Regions from separate parts of the Homo sapiens genome. Here all the other regions are linked to region 1. The links are contacts of gene promoters, found by promoter capture Hi-C in blood cells and fetal thymus (Javierre and others, 2016). All regions are on one chromosome and are shown on one strand. Each heading gives the region's core, a stretch centred on a gene start or on the middle of the fragment in contact. The rest is flanking DNA. Distances are from core to core; before and after follow the strand shown. Region 1 holds the start of AKTIP (AKT interacting protein). Region 2 overlaps CNOT1 (CCR4-NOT transcription complex subunit 1). Region 3 holds the start of SLC38A7 (solute carrier family 38 member 7). Region 4 holds the start of SETD6 (SET domain containing 6, protein lysine methyltransferase).

The links. The method cuts DNA at HindIII sites, captures the fragments that hold promoters and counts their contacts. A CHiCAGO score of 5 or more calls a contact.
Region 2: a contact is called between a fragment that was not itself captured here and the fragment with the promoter of AKTIP in region 1, in 3 of 17 cell types (activated CD4 T cells, fetal thymus and total B cells). The highest score is 7.8, in activated CD4 T cells.
Region 3: a contact is called between the fragment with the promoter of SLC38A7 here and the fragment with the promoter of AKTIP in region 1, in 2 of 17 cell types (M0 macrophages and monocytes). The highest score is 10.8, in M0 macrophages.
Region 4: the fragment with the promoter of SETD6 here is called in contact with the fragment with the promoter of AKTIP in region 1 in 1 of 17 cell types (monocytes); the score reaches 7.5 in monocytes.

Annotation. Positions count from the first base shown.
Region 1 is chr16:53,501,833-53,504,564 of GRCh38, reverse strand. It overlaps AKTIP (AKT interacting protein), which reads left to right and starts at 1,356. Exons shown (of 10, transcript NM_022476.4): 1 at 1,356-1,418. It overlaps LOC124903690 (a long non-coding RNA gene), which reads right to left and starts at 185. Exons shown (of 2, transcript XR_007065069.1): 1 at 145-185. RefSeq lists silencers at 189-278, 999-1,238, 1,259-1,328, 1,589-1,888 and enhancers at 599-698, 1,159-1,658, 1,659-2,160. The HindIII fragment of the contact is 2,307 bases long and covers 891-2,732 here.
Region 2 is chr16:58,626,623-58,629,643 of GRCh38, reverse strand. All of the region lies in intron 1 of CNOT1 (CCR4-NOT transcription complex subunit 1), which reads left to right. Among named protein-coding and RNA genes, the nearest start is that of CNOT1, 1.7 kb to the left of the region's middle. RefSeq lists enhancers at 1-64, 65-741. The HindIII fragment of the contact is 1,705 bases long and covers 821-2,525 here.
Region 3 is chr16:58,683,369-58,686,151 of GRCh38, reverse strand. SLC38A7 (solute carrier family 38 member 7) reads left to right here and starts at 1,382. Exons shown (of 12, transcript NM_018231.3): 1 at 1,382-1,435; 2 at 1,974-2,197. RefSeq lists enhancers at 1,596-1,655, 1,166-2,010. The HindIII fragment of the contact is 5,837 bases long and covers 1,325-2,783 here.
Region 4 is chr16:58,514,155-58,517,176 of GRCh38, reverse strand. It overlaps SETD6 (SET domain containing 6, protein lysine methyltransferase), which reads right to left and starts at 1,660. Exons shown (of 8, transcript NM_001160305.4): 1 at 1,613-1,660; 2 at 1,080-1,386; 3 at 834-975; 4 at 505-699; 5 at 249-369. The coding sequence starts at 1,639. It also overlaps a transcript of NDRG4 not described here. RefSeq lists enhancers at 606-775, 1,816-1,985 and a silencer at 1,036-1,695. The HindIII fragment of the contact is 14,988 bases long and covers 1-2,849 here.

The sequences.
Region 1 (2,732 bases), core at 107-2,606:
TAACATTCCTAAATGTGTCCTAAGGGGACAAAAGGAAGTGGCTCAGAAGTGTTTTCAGCTAGGGGAGGAAGCTGGGTTTCAGAACCAACCCTTGGGATTAACATCAGGAGAATTTGGCTTCCTGCCCTTTAATAAGTCACTTACCAGAATCTCAGAGGCAACCAAAAATGGACCAAACAACCCGGCCAGAGAATGCGGCTTCTGAGTGTAAGACACTGAGGCGGTGTCACAGACAGGTCAGTGCCTCTGGTGTCTAGAAAAGGGGCAGGGGCTTGCGGGGAGAGGGCTGTCGCGCAAGTGTGGAAGTGGAGTGCCGAGATTGGACGGACTAACCACGGGGAGGCACCGTTGGTAAGAACAGGCCTGGAAAGCAGCTGGCAGCAGTCACAGAATTAGGCCAGAGAGAGACCTCCATGGGAAAGCAGACGGGAGGTCCAAATGAGAGCGTGTGAATTAAAAAAAAAAAAAAAAAAAAAGACCAGGAACTATGTTGCTATGGGAGAGGTTCTCCAACTTCAGTGTGCGCCAGAATCAGCAGCGAACTGTGACAGATGTGGATTCCTGGTCCTCAGCCTCCCCCCTCCCCCCAGCCCCCGGCCCCCACTCGGATGCTGCAGGTCGGGGCCGACACACACAGATTTACAAAGCTCCTCTGGCTGCTCTAGTGCCCAGGGCCCACTTGGAGCTGAGCTCCCTTCAGCTCCAGCCTTCAGCTCCTGCACTGATGGAGAGAACGGGCGTTTCTTGATGCCACGCCAAGTGTCCTTCTGACCCCTGGTACCCTGTGGGCCCGACGTGGCGGCCTCGGGCCTCGCAGCGCCGCCCAACGCAGTAGGACCTAGCGATGGGAGCCACTGGGCAGTCGCGCGGCCCGGCCCTCCCCAAAAGCTTGGCTTGCAGACGTTAGCGTATGCCCCAGCCCCTGCGCATGGCGGTTGCGCTGTGGGCTGTGCGAATAAACCTCCGGGAAGGTCTCCGTGGTGACTGGCAGACGCCCTGGCCAATTGTGACCCGGCGCTTGTTTGTCTCTGCCCCATCCCTCCCCGGGGGGCCGATACTTCCATGACTGACAGGCCGTCCCAGGCGCTGTTACGTAAGGGGAGGGTCAAGTGCAGTCCCACCCAAACCGGGGTGATTTGATTTGCAGGACCGAGTGTGTTCTTCCCAACGCCCCCGGAAGAACGTCTTTGACGGGCAGGTGTGAGAGCCAGTTGGCGCCGGGAGGCCAGGCGGAAGCCTCGGGCCCCAGGATCGTGCAGCAGGGGGCGGAGCCCGCTGCCGAGGGCAGGGCAGGGCAGGGCAGGGCGGGGTGGGGCGGGGCGGGGATCAAGCAGGGGCAGGGCTGGCGCTGCGGCGGGAGATGCTGTCGGGCCGCGGCGGCGCTTGGCAGCCAGGAGCTCTGCATTGAAGGCACTGGGGTGAGGCTTACTGCCCGGCAGGCTGGTGGGTACGCGAGGGCTGAGGTGTCTGTAAATCTGGCCGCCAGCCTCCACGGGCCCGGCATTTGTCCATCTTTCTAGGCGCTCGCGACTCGGCGACGGCGGCCGCAGTGGGACACGGAGGCGGGGCCGGGCACCTGTGCGCGTTTGCAGGCACCTGCTGCGCTGGCCGCCTCGCAGCCCGGGACTGCTGCTGGGGACTGCGGCTGGAGCTGGGCTGGCCCGGCCCGAGGGAGAGGGGGGCCCAGCTGGCTCGCCCCGGCCCGTGCCCGCCCTCCCCGGCCGGGTCCCGACCCCGAGCTCTGGTTAAGGGGGCGTCGCCGGGCCCCAGAGCCCCCCCACTGGAGGGGCCCGCGGCTCCCGGGCCAGCATCGAGCTAGCTGCGAGGCCAGGACAGGGCCCCCGCCTTGCATCACCTCGAGACAGGTTTGTCCAGATTCCCTGAGTGCTCAGAGACGGGTTTCCGCCCGCGGTGAGGGTGCCGGTCCGAGGCCGCCGCGGGTCCCGGCTGTCCCCAGCGAGCCTGGCCCGGGCCGTTTTCATCTTTTTTTTTCTGGCCCCTGCTCTGTCTCCTCTTAACGTGTAATTTCTTAAGTCCGATTCGGGGTGATGTGAGTGCGCTGTGGCATGTAGAGTAACAGCAGCACTCATGTTTTAGCCTAGTTTTAGCTCTGCCACGCACTGTCATTCGCGCAGGCTGAAGACCCAGACTTCTCAGCTGGGTGATGTAAAGGAATGCAGCCGTGGCCAAACAGGCAGAAATTCTAAAATTGTTTCCAAGTGACAAGGATGTAACATGTCTTGCTTCCATCTATGTCATTCCTCTCAGAACATGTATGCTGTGCTTGTCCTAGACTAGACCCTGAAAAGTGTGCTACAGTTTCTCGTGATTATGTTGCTGCTGGAAACATTGGATTAAAAGATCCATAGCAAAGTTAGGCAGCAGAAGACAATACCTCCTGCTTAATGACAGGCAGAACTGGGGACAAAATTTACTGGATTCTTAAAGAGAATCCTAACGCGTTAGACCTTTAAGAGACTTTACAGGTTTGCACCAGCCCATTAAATGTATGTTGTGGAGCACACCACTGTGTCCCAAGGGATCCGGTCCCGTGTTAGGTGTGTCCTAGAGGACACTGGGGTGCTGCACATTACTGCTAGATCTGAAAATCAGTGTCTTCATTTGAGCCAAAGGGGAACATGCCCCCGCACATTTTTGATATCTCAAGTATATTCAGTGTGTCATACTCACCTTTAAAGGCAGATTTGCGGAGAACTGTTGTTACTTATTGC
Region 2 (3,021 bases), core at 424-2,923, 5.1 Mb before region 1:
TGGACCTGGGGCCACTGGAAGCGTTTCCCGGAGCTCTAGGGAGTGAGAGGCAGCCGGGACGGGGAAGTGGGACGAGGCGGGAGAGGGCGGACTCTTCTCCACACGGCTCTCGGAGGCTTCGCGCTCTGAAGATGAGAGGCCAGCGAGAAGGCTCCAGGAAGCGGAGGGTAGAGCGCGGGGTGAGACCCATGGTGGTCTCTGTCCCGGGCCTGGAGGCTCAGGGGGCGGCAGCGGCGGCAGTTCGTGTCGCTGGGCCTGGCTTCGCGCGGGTTGCACCCCTCTGAGACCTCCACGACCTCCTTAACTACTGTTTCTGTCTCTGCTCCCTGATGGTTGCAGTGGGCATCGGCTTCCGAGGCCTAGGGCTTCTGGCGGGGGGGACCGTGTTTGGAGTTTTTGCATGTTTCCAGTTCTTCTCCGTGTACTCGGAGCTGCCACTCTCCCCGTCTTACGCCCCCAGCACGTTGTCAAAGCCCCCCAGGTTTCGGGTGTCCCCGGATGGGAAGGGCGGGCGGGAGCAAGCACTTCCTTATTACTTGCTACAGGTTTTGTTCCACTCGCGCGCCTGGGCGCTCACACTTTCTTTGAAGTTGGCCCCCACCTACTCGGTCCGGTGTCTGCAGTAGTGGCGGTCCTGCTCACCCAGGACAAGTGTCCCGCTAGTGAGCTGAGCACTTGTAGGCCTCAAGGCTGATAAGATCCACGGCAGGTCTTGTAGAGGTACTTAAGGCCAAACACAAATAATACTTTTTCAGTACCACCTCCTTTGCAGAATTCACCCAAGAGGGCTCACAGATACTAACTCCCCGAGGAGTAAGCTTTGTAGATTAAAAAAGAATGCTTGACATCTGTGCGTTTGAAAATGTTGTATTTAAAATAAACTTTATGACAAACTTTTCCCATGAAGTTAATCAAATGTCACATTTCTTAGGACTCTAATAAAGTCTGTTTTCTTCCTGAAAACTGAGTAACAATGCTTAACCTACCCTGCCGATTTCTCTACAATTCGATAGCCTGTGACTACTTGGGTTTTTTTTTTTTTTTAAGTCAGTGATTGAGTGAATATAATTATACTGTTTGAAACAATGCCGAACGTTTTCCTTATGACAGCCCCTTTGATAGGAATAGGGAATACATGGATTAAAAAAATGAGGGAAGGCAAGTAAAATATTAGGAGGAAGGTCAAACAGATTAAGAACAATTTTTTTCTATAGGTACTTGGGTTTAATACTTAAGTGATCTGTGGTCCCGGTTGGTATTCCTACCCTTTTAAAGATTGGCAGCAGAGTATTTTAGCTATTAAGAAGACATGTGGTAACAGTTTAAATAATTATGTTTTAGGATACTGCAAATTGTTACCTTGTCTAAGGAGAATATGCATTGATGATACATGGTTTTAGGTGGCTAGCTGTGCTTTGACTGAAATGATAGCATGTTGATAAAACTAGTTTGGAGAGTTAGTTCCTTTTCAACAAGTGTGGGTTCCCCAAGTCTTAGTGGAAACAAGTCTAGAATCGACTGGGCGCGGTGGCTCACGCCTGTAATCCCAGCACTTAGGGAGGCCAAGGTAGGTGAATCACCAGAGGTCAGGAGTTCGAGACCAGCCTGGCCAACATGTCACAACCGCGTCTCTACTAAAAATACAAAAATTAGCCGGGCGTGGTGGCAGGTGCCTGTAATCCCAGCTACTTGGGAGGCTGAGGCAGGAGAATTGCTTGAACCCGGGAGGCGGAGGTTGCAGTGAGCCGAGATAGAGCTACTGCACTCCAGCCTGGGGGACGGGGAGACTCCGTCTCAAAAAAAAGTCTAGAATGAAGGCGCAAAGACATGTCTATTTGTAACTGAAAATATTTCCTTTTCTTACCTAAGATTGTAATCTTAGAAGTTTTAAGGTACGGTTTTGTGGCATTACGGTGGAAAAGAATTGAAATGTGCTCTTTTTGGTTCCCAGCTTAACACCCCGGGTTCATTTTCTTTTTTTCTAGTTTCTGAATTTCTCTTCGGGGTTTAGATCCTAGTCTCTTTAACATAGATGTTGTCAAGCTAAATAATAAGACATCCTTCTTATTTGGAGTCAAGTCATTAAAAAAAGCTATGAAAACAAATGGAAATGCTTGCCATCTTTTCAAAACATGCTTTAAAGTCTGATTTCAAATTACCTTGCATGTTACTTTTTCTGAGTATGTTTTAGGATAGATTCTGATCTGGTTATGAGAAACTTTTTTTTTTTTTTTTTTTTTGAGATGGAGTCTCGCTCTGTCACCAGGCTGGAGTGCAGCAGCACACAATCTCGGTTCACTGCAACCTTTGCCTCCAGGGTTCAAGCAATTCTGCCTCAGCCCCTCGAGTAGCTGGGACTACAGGTGCCCGCCACCACACCCAGCTAATTTTTGTATTTTAATAGAGACAGGGTTTCACCATGTTGGCCAGGATGGTCTCGAACTCTTAACTTCATGATCCACCCGCCTCACCCTCCCAAAGTGCTGGGATTACAGACGTGAGCCACGGTGCCCAGCCGAGAAGCTTTCTTTTTAACCAGTTTGAATTTATGAACTTGATTATTTCTTTCTGTGTAATAACAAACACGTCTTTGGTACCCAATACCAGAGAATGGAATTTGTCCACAATAATTCTAATTGAGTGCTGTCATATTTTGGGACTAATTTTTTTGGCCCAGGCAAGTGGCTCAAGCCTGTATCCTAGCTTTTTGGGAGGATGAGGGAGGAGGATGCTTGAGACTAGGAGTTAGAGACCAGCCTGGGCAACATGGTGAGACCCTGTCTTTACAAAAAAGAAAATTAAATTAAAAAAAAATTTTGCAAAATATTTGTTATGAGTATTTTGTCCCACATTAACAAAAATAGTAGTCTGCCTTTTTTTTTTTGAGACGGAGTCTCACCCTGTTGCCCAGGCTGGAATGCAGTGGTGCGATCTCAGCTCACTACAACCTCCGCCTCCTGGGTTCAAGCGATTCTCCTGCCCCAGCCTCCCAAGTAGCTGGGATTACAGGCGCGCACCACT
Region 3 (2,783 bases), core at 133-2,632, 5.2 Mb before region 1:
AAATAAATCTCTGTCGTTTAAACCACCCAGTCTATGATACTCTGTTATAGCGGCCTTAACTGATTAAGACAGTATGATTCTATTTTTTTTTTTTTTTTTGAGACAGAGTCTCACTCTGTCTCCCAGGCTGGAGTGCAGTGGCACGATCTCTGCTCACCGCCACCTCCGCCCCCCGGGTTCAAGTGATTCTCCTGCCTCAGGCTCCCGAGTAGCTGGGACTACTGGCGTGCACCACCATGCCCAGCTAATTTTTGTATTTTTAATAGAGACAGGACTTCGCCATGTTGGCCAGGCTGGTCTCGAACTCCTGACCTCAAGTGATCAGCCCGCCTTGGCCTCCCAAAGTGCTGGGATTACAGGTGTGAGCCACCGCACTCAACCAGTATGATTCAATTTATATAAACTTTTTGGAGGCCAGGCACGGTGGCTCATGCCTGTAATCCCAGCACTTTGGGAGGCTGAGGTGGGTGGATCACTTGAGGTCAGGAGTTTGAGACCAACCTGGCCAACATGGCGAAACCCCATCTCTACTAAAAATACAAAAATTAGCTGGGAGTGGTGGTGCATGCCTGTAATCCCAGGTACTCGGGAGGCTGAGGCAGGAGAATCACATGAACCCGGGAGGCAGAGGTTGCAGTGAGCAAAGATCGTGCCACTGCACCCCAGCCGGGGAGACAGAGTGAGACTCTGTCTCAAAAAAAAAAAAAAAAAAAAAAAAAAAAAAGGTGTGATTTGGGTTTCTAAGGATTCCCAGTGTGTCCTCATCGGTGAGGACCTCTGATGCATGGAGAGGTAAGTGCAGTGGAGAGCATATCCACAAAACAGAGATGAGGCTATTGGGATGCTGGAGATTACGTGACAATTTATGAGTGACACACAGCCAAGAACAGAACCAGGACTGGATGCCCATTTCGTCATTCAACAAATATTTACTGAGCACCTACAATCCCTCAAAAACTGTTCTAGAGTCTAAACCGATGGGGTCGTAACCATGCCCCCAGCCCACTCCCTTGCAGGAAAGACCGTGGCTCCAGGTCCCCCACATTACTGATTAAAAAAAAACTCCAGTGCTCTGGCCATGGGCGTGAAGGCAAGGACAGAGACCGGGAGGATAATGAGGCCAAACAGCTTTGGCCCACCGCCACCGGGACTGGCAAAGAGGCCAGACCTCCTAATGCTCTTCCTTGGAGGAAGGAGCAGTGTTTGATTTGGTCAAGAGGCCAAGACTAAAAGTAAGAGGATAAACACGAGCTGGCTGGACGCGAGGCTGGCTCAGGGCAGTGCTGTCGGGCTGAGGATTCAGGGAGCTGGTGTTGTCCAAGCTTCACATTTGCGGAAACTACAACTCCCAGCGTGTCCCGCGGCCGCCCGAGCGGGCGTCATGTGATGCATGCTCACGTGTCTCCGCAGCCGGCTCGGGAAAGAATCCCCCAAGGTAGGTGGCCGGAGACAGGCTCTGGAGGGTGGAAGTGTTAGATCCCCGAGGTCTGTGGAGCCCCTCAGTCCCCGCCACCGCGGAAAAGCTCAGACCCTTTCCCTGCAGGGGTCCAGATCCTGGCGTCCTCGCCCCACGCCCGTCCCTCTGTTGCGCCAGCTCTGCCGCGCCTTTACCCAGCCAGAGGGTCTCCACCCAGTCCTAGGCCGGGATCGGGTCCCGGAGCTCCTCCCCAGGTTACCCCACAGTAGCCCACCCTTCTCGCTCCAGGCCTGGGAATCGCCCCGCCCCGGCCTCCTGGCCCGGGTGCGCCCTGGCTCACCTCACAAAGCCTCACCTCACAAAGCAGCCCACCCTTTCTATCTCAGGGCTCCAACCCCAGGCTGGACTGGGAGCACACTCCAGTTGGGATCTGAGGGGCCTACATCGCTGGCCTGAGCATGTGGGCATCAGGCTTCTATTCTGGCTCTGCCAGCTACCCACTGTGACCTTAGTCTAACCTCTCCCTCCTGGGCCTGTTTTCCTATCTGTCCTGAAGCTCCATTTCATGAGTAAGCGTGAGAGCCGCTCAGTTTCCTCCAGCTCTGCTGAAGCCAGCACAGAAGTAGCCCAAACTCTTCCCTCTGCTGACAGCAAATTTTAGGCAAAGTCTTGAGAAAGAAGAAATTGGGTCCAGAAAGGGAAGTGAGGAGAATCAGATCCCAGACCTTTGGGGAGAAGGAGCAACCGCCTCTGGCACAGCCCATCAGGGAGAAAGAGCAGGTAAGGTGCAACAATGAGCTGAGTAATTTGCCAGTGAGCAGTGGGGGTGCCGAGAGGTCTTAACCAAGGCAGAGAATCTGCAAGAGGTGGGACCCCCAGCTTCTGAGTTCCACGAGGACCCCAGCCTGCACTCTCATGTGGGTGGCAGGAGAGGCTGGAGGATGGTGCAGGACTCGGGCAGGGGTGCCCAAGGGAAACATTTTGGTTGGAGAGTCAGGAAGCCGCACCAAGCCTTGTGACCTTGGACGAATCACTCTGTAGACCTCTGTCTCTGTGACGTGAGCAGCGGGGAGGAGATGGTCACAGCTCTGGCAGTGGTCACTTTGCAGGGTTCTTTCTCTAGCTACACTGGAAGCCTGGGAGTCCCAAGACTCTGCCTTCGCTGCTCACTGCTTTGATTTTGCTGAGTTGCTGGTTGGGTGACAGGATGTGTAAGAGGATGTGTAAGCCCTGTGACATCTGACAGATCTTTCTGGGTTTCGAGCCAGCAGAGGAATGTTTCCTCTGGTGCCATGTCCCTTGGTTCCATGCTTGATAACAGATGGCTGAGAGCACATGAACTTTCACCCTTTCCCTCTCATGAGTG
Region 4 (3,022 bases), core at 411-2,910, 5.0 Mb before region 1:
AGACCACTCAATGTCTAGCACTAAATAAATGATGGTAGTATAGTTTATCAGAGGATTAACCACAACTTACTTTGAGGACTTTAAAATGTTTCGCATTCAAATGATTCTACAGTAATATGCATACTAAAAGGACATACAGGAGGAGCTGATTTCACCTACTCATTTTGTAGCACTAGTAAGAGAATGGAGCCTAAGACACAATGGCTTGAATCATGCTCAATCAGTGCACCAAGAGAAACTCCACTCACCGCAGAGTATTCTAGATTGGCGTTGTGATTGGCTAAGTGGTTTAGTATGTCTGCAGCAGGCACCATCACGGGGGAGTTGGGCTCCTTTTCATCCTCTTCTTCCTCCAGTGGTTCCTGAAAGCTGCCATTGACAGAACCTGGCTAAGGCCCTGTCTTGGGTGAGGGACTGGGGGTGGATTTCACTGTTTTTCCACTTTTGTCCCTCTATAGAGTTGTAAAGAAAAGGGTTCCGTCCTCAGAGGCCCCACCCACTGACCTATAGGCCATCACAAGGGCCACCAGCTGGTGGTAGAGTTCTAGGGAGCGAACCCTGAGGCTGAAGAGATCGGGGTGGGCTTCCATGAAGGGCAGCACGATGGACTGGTACTCGCTGCGGATGTTGGCCAAATCCTTCTCCACGGCCTCAGGTACGCCTGTGCCCTGGAGCAGGCACCGGCGCTCCTCCTCTGGCCTGCAGGGACACCCACACCCAGGTTCCCTTCATTCCTTCACACACTTTACTGGGTAGGACTGGTGCAGGGGCGGGGAAACTTCTTGCAGCAGGCTACGGTGCAGGCGCTCCCCAACCCCTCCCAAGGCTCTCACCAGAACATCGGGTGCTCCAAGCGGCCCAGCTCGGGCCAGAGCGCAAAGTAGGGCCTCCAGCGTGAGGCCGGGGCCTGCAGCTCGTGGAGCAGCGCCAGCAGCAGTGGCACCCAGCCCGACTGGCTCTGCAGCGCAACTCGCTCTGAGGAAGACACAGGTGTGAGCGCCCCGGCGCGGCCTCGCGGGCCGGGCCCGCCCCGCCCCGCCCCGCCCCGCCCCAGGGCCCTAGCCCGCCGCCGTGCCCACCTCGCTCCAGCAGGCCGCCGATGGAGCAGGTGTGCTGCGACAGGAGCGCGGCCCGCGGCACCACGAACAACAGCTCTCCGGCCTGCACGCTCTCCCGGGCCACCATGCCGTAGCCGGCCACCGTGCCCTGCCGGCTGACCGCCACCTGAGCAGGAGGGCTGGTCAGGGCAGCCCGCGCCCCGCCGCGGGTCCTCCGCCCGCCGGCTCGCTCGCTCACCTTGGGACTCAGCTCCAGCCCCACCCGCCGGCACCAGCTCAGGAAGCAGGCCACAGGATCCAGGTCGCCGCCGTCCACGGGCCCCGCCACCTGAGATAAGTGCGCGCAGTGACCAGGTCCGACCCCCAGAGAGGCCGCTGGGAACTGCAGGAGACCGCGGCGCGAGCGCAGAACGGGCTTTGGGTGGAGGAGGGGACGAGCGGAGAGGGGCGCGGGACCCGCGGGAGGGAGCGGAGGGGGCGCAGGCGGACGGTTCTGCGAACGGAGAAGGGGTGAGGCGCGGAGGAAAAGGCTGGACCCCGCGCCCGCCACTCACCCGTGGACGCTTCGCCTGGGTCGCCATGGTCTAAGAGCGCGTTTCCTCGCGGGCCGGCGCACCGCGCGGTCACTTCCGGCGTCTCTGGCCCCGCCCCGGCGCCGGAACCACGTGGTGCCTGTTTTGTCGTCCACGCTGCAGACTGGCCGGAGTTACCGCGGGCTGGAATCGTTCCTCATGAAAACATCTTGAGTCCAGGATCTCCAATTGCACTCACGCGCTGCGAGTGCAGAAGGAGAGTCCCGTGCCGCTTGGCGCCTGGTTCTGAGCCAGGTACAGCCCTGGCCTTCGGTCTGTCCCCGAGGGCTGAGGCTTCTTGCGGTCTGGGTGCAAGAACAAAATACGGTTTCTGGATCGGAAGCCGAGGGTCTGGTGGCCGGCCGGTGGTGAGCGACGCAACTGGGCGGCGAGCGACCTCCTGATCTCGACCCCTTGTTGCCGATGGCCATGGAACCCTTTTACTGGTGGTATTCGTTCAGAGCAGTTTTCGTGTGTGTTTCAGAGTGGCGTGGCCTAGAGGGCTCCTGGATCTAGAATAGATCCTCTCTGCCCTTATTTGCCAGTACATCCTCGTTTTTAATCTGCTGCATAGCACGTGGTGGGTTTTATTAGCTGACATAGTAGGGACTCAATATCTACCTATTGGGTAAATAAATGAATAAAACAAATGGTGGTTAAACCTGGGGAAGTAGCATGCTGTTAAATGTAAGAAAATGAGGCTGTGAATATAGAGGTTACAGGAATGGGTTTTGAAGCCAAGCAACGCCGCAGCTCAACACTCAGTTTTTTTTTTTTTTCCTTTTTTTTTTTTTTTTTTTTGGCGCGTTGGGGAGACGGGAGTCTCGCCCAGGCTGGAGTGCAGTGGTGCGATCTCGGCTCACTGCAACCTCCACCTCCCGGGTTCAAGCAATTCCCCTGCCTCAGCCTCCCAAGTAGCTGGGACTACAGGCGTACGCTGCCATGCCCAGCTAATTTTTTGTGTTTATTTTTAGTAGAGTCGGGGTTTCACCGCGTTGCCCAGGCTGGTCTCGAACTCCTGAGCTCAGGCAATCCCCCCGCCTCGGCCTCCCAGAGTGCTAGGATTACAGGCGTGAGCCACCGCGCGCGGCCTGGTCTGTTACTCAGGCAAATCCTTTTTCCTGAACCTTAGTCTCCTCACCTGCGAAACTAAGATAATACCTACTCTGTAGAATTAATGTAAGGATTGGTATGTTGACTAAAGAAAAAATATTAAGCTTTTAAATAATTAAAATTAGTTTTATTTAGAAGCCTTATTGAGGACTATAGACTGAGGCCTGTAGCCCAGGAGTAATCTTGTGAGGCTCCTCTAACACGGTATTTTAGTTTAGGTTATACATAGGTGAAGATTTAGTATGTGTAAAATCATATCAAAGTTTAGGGATAAGTATA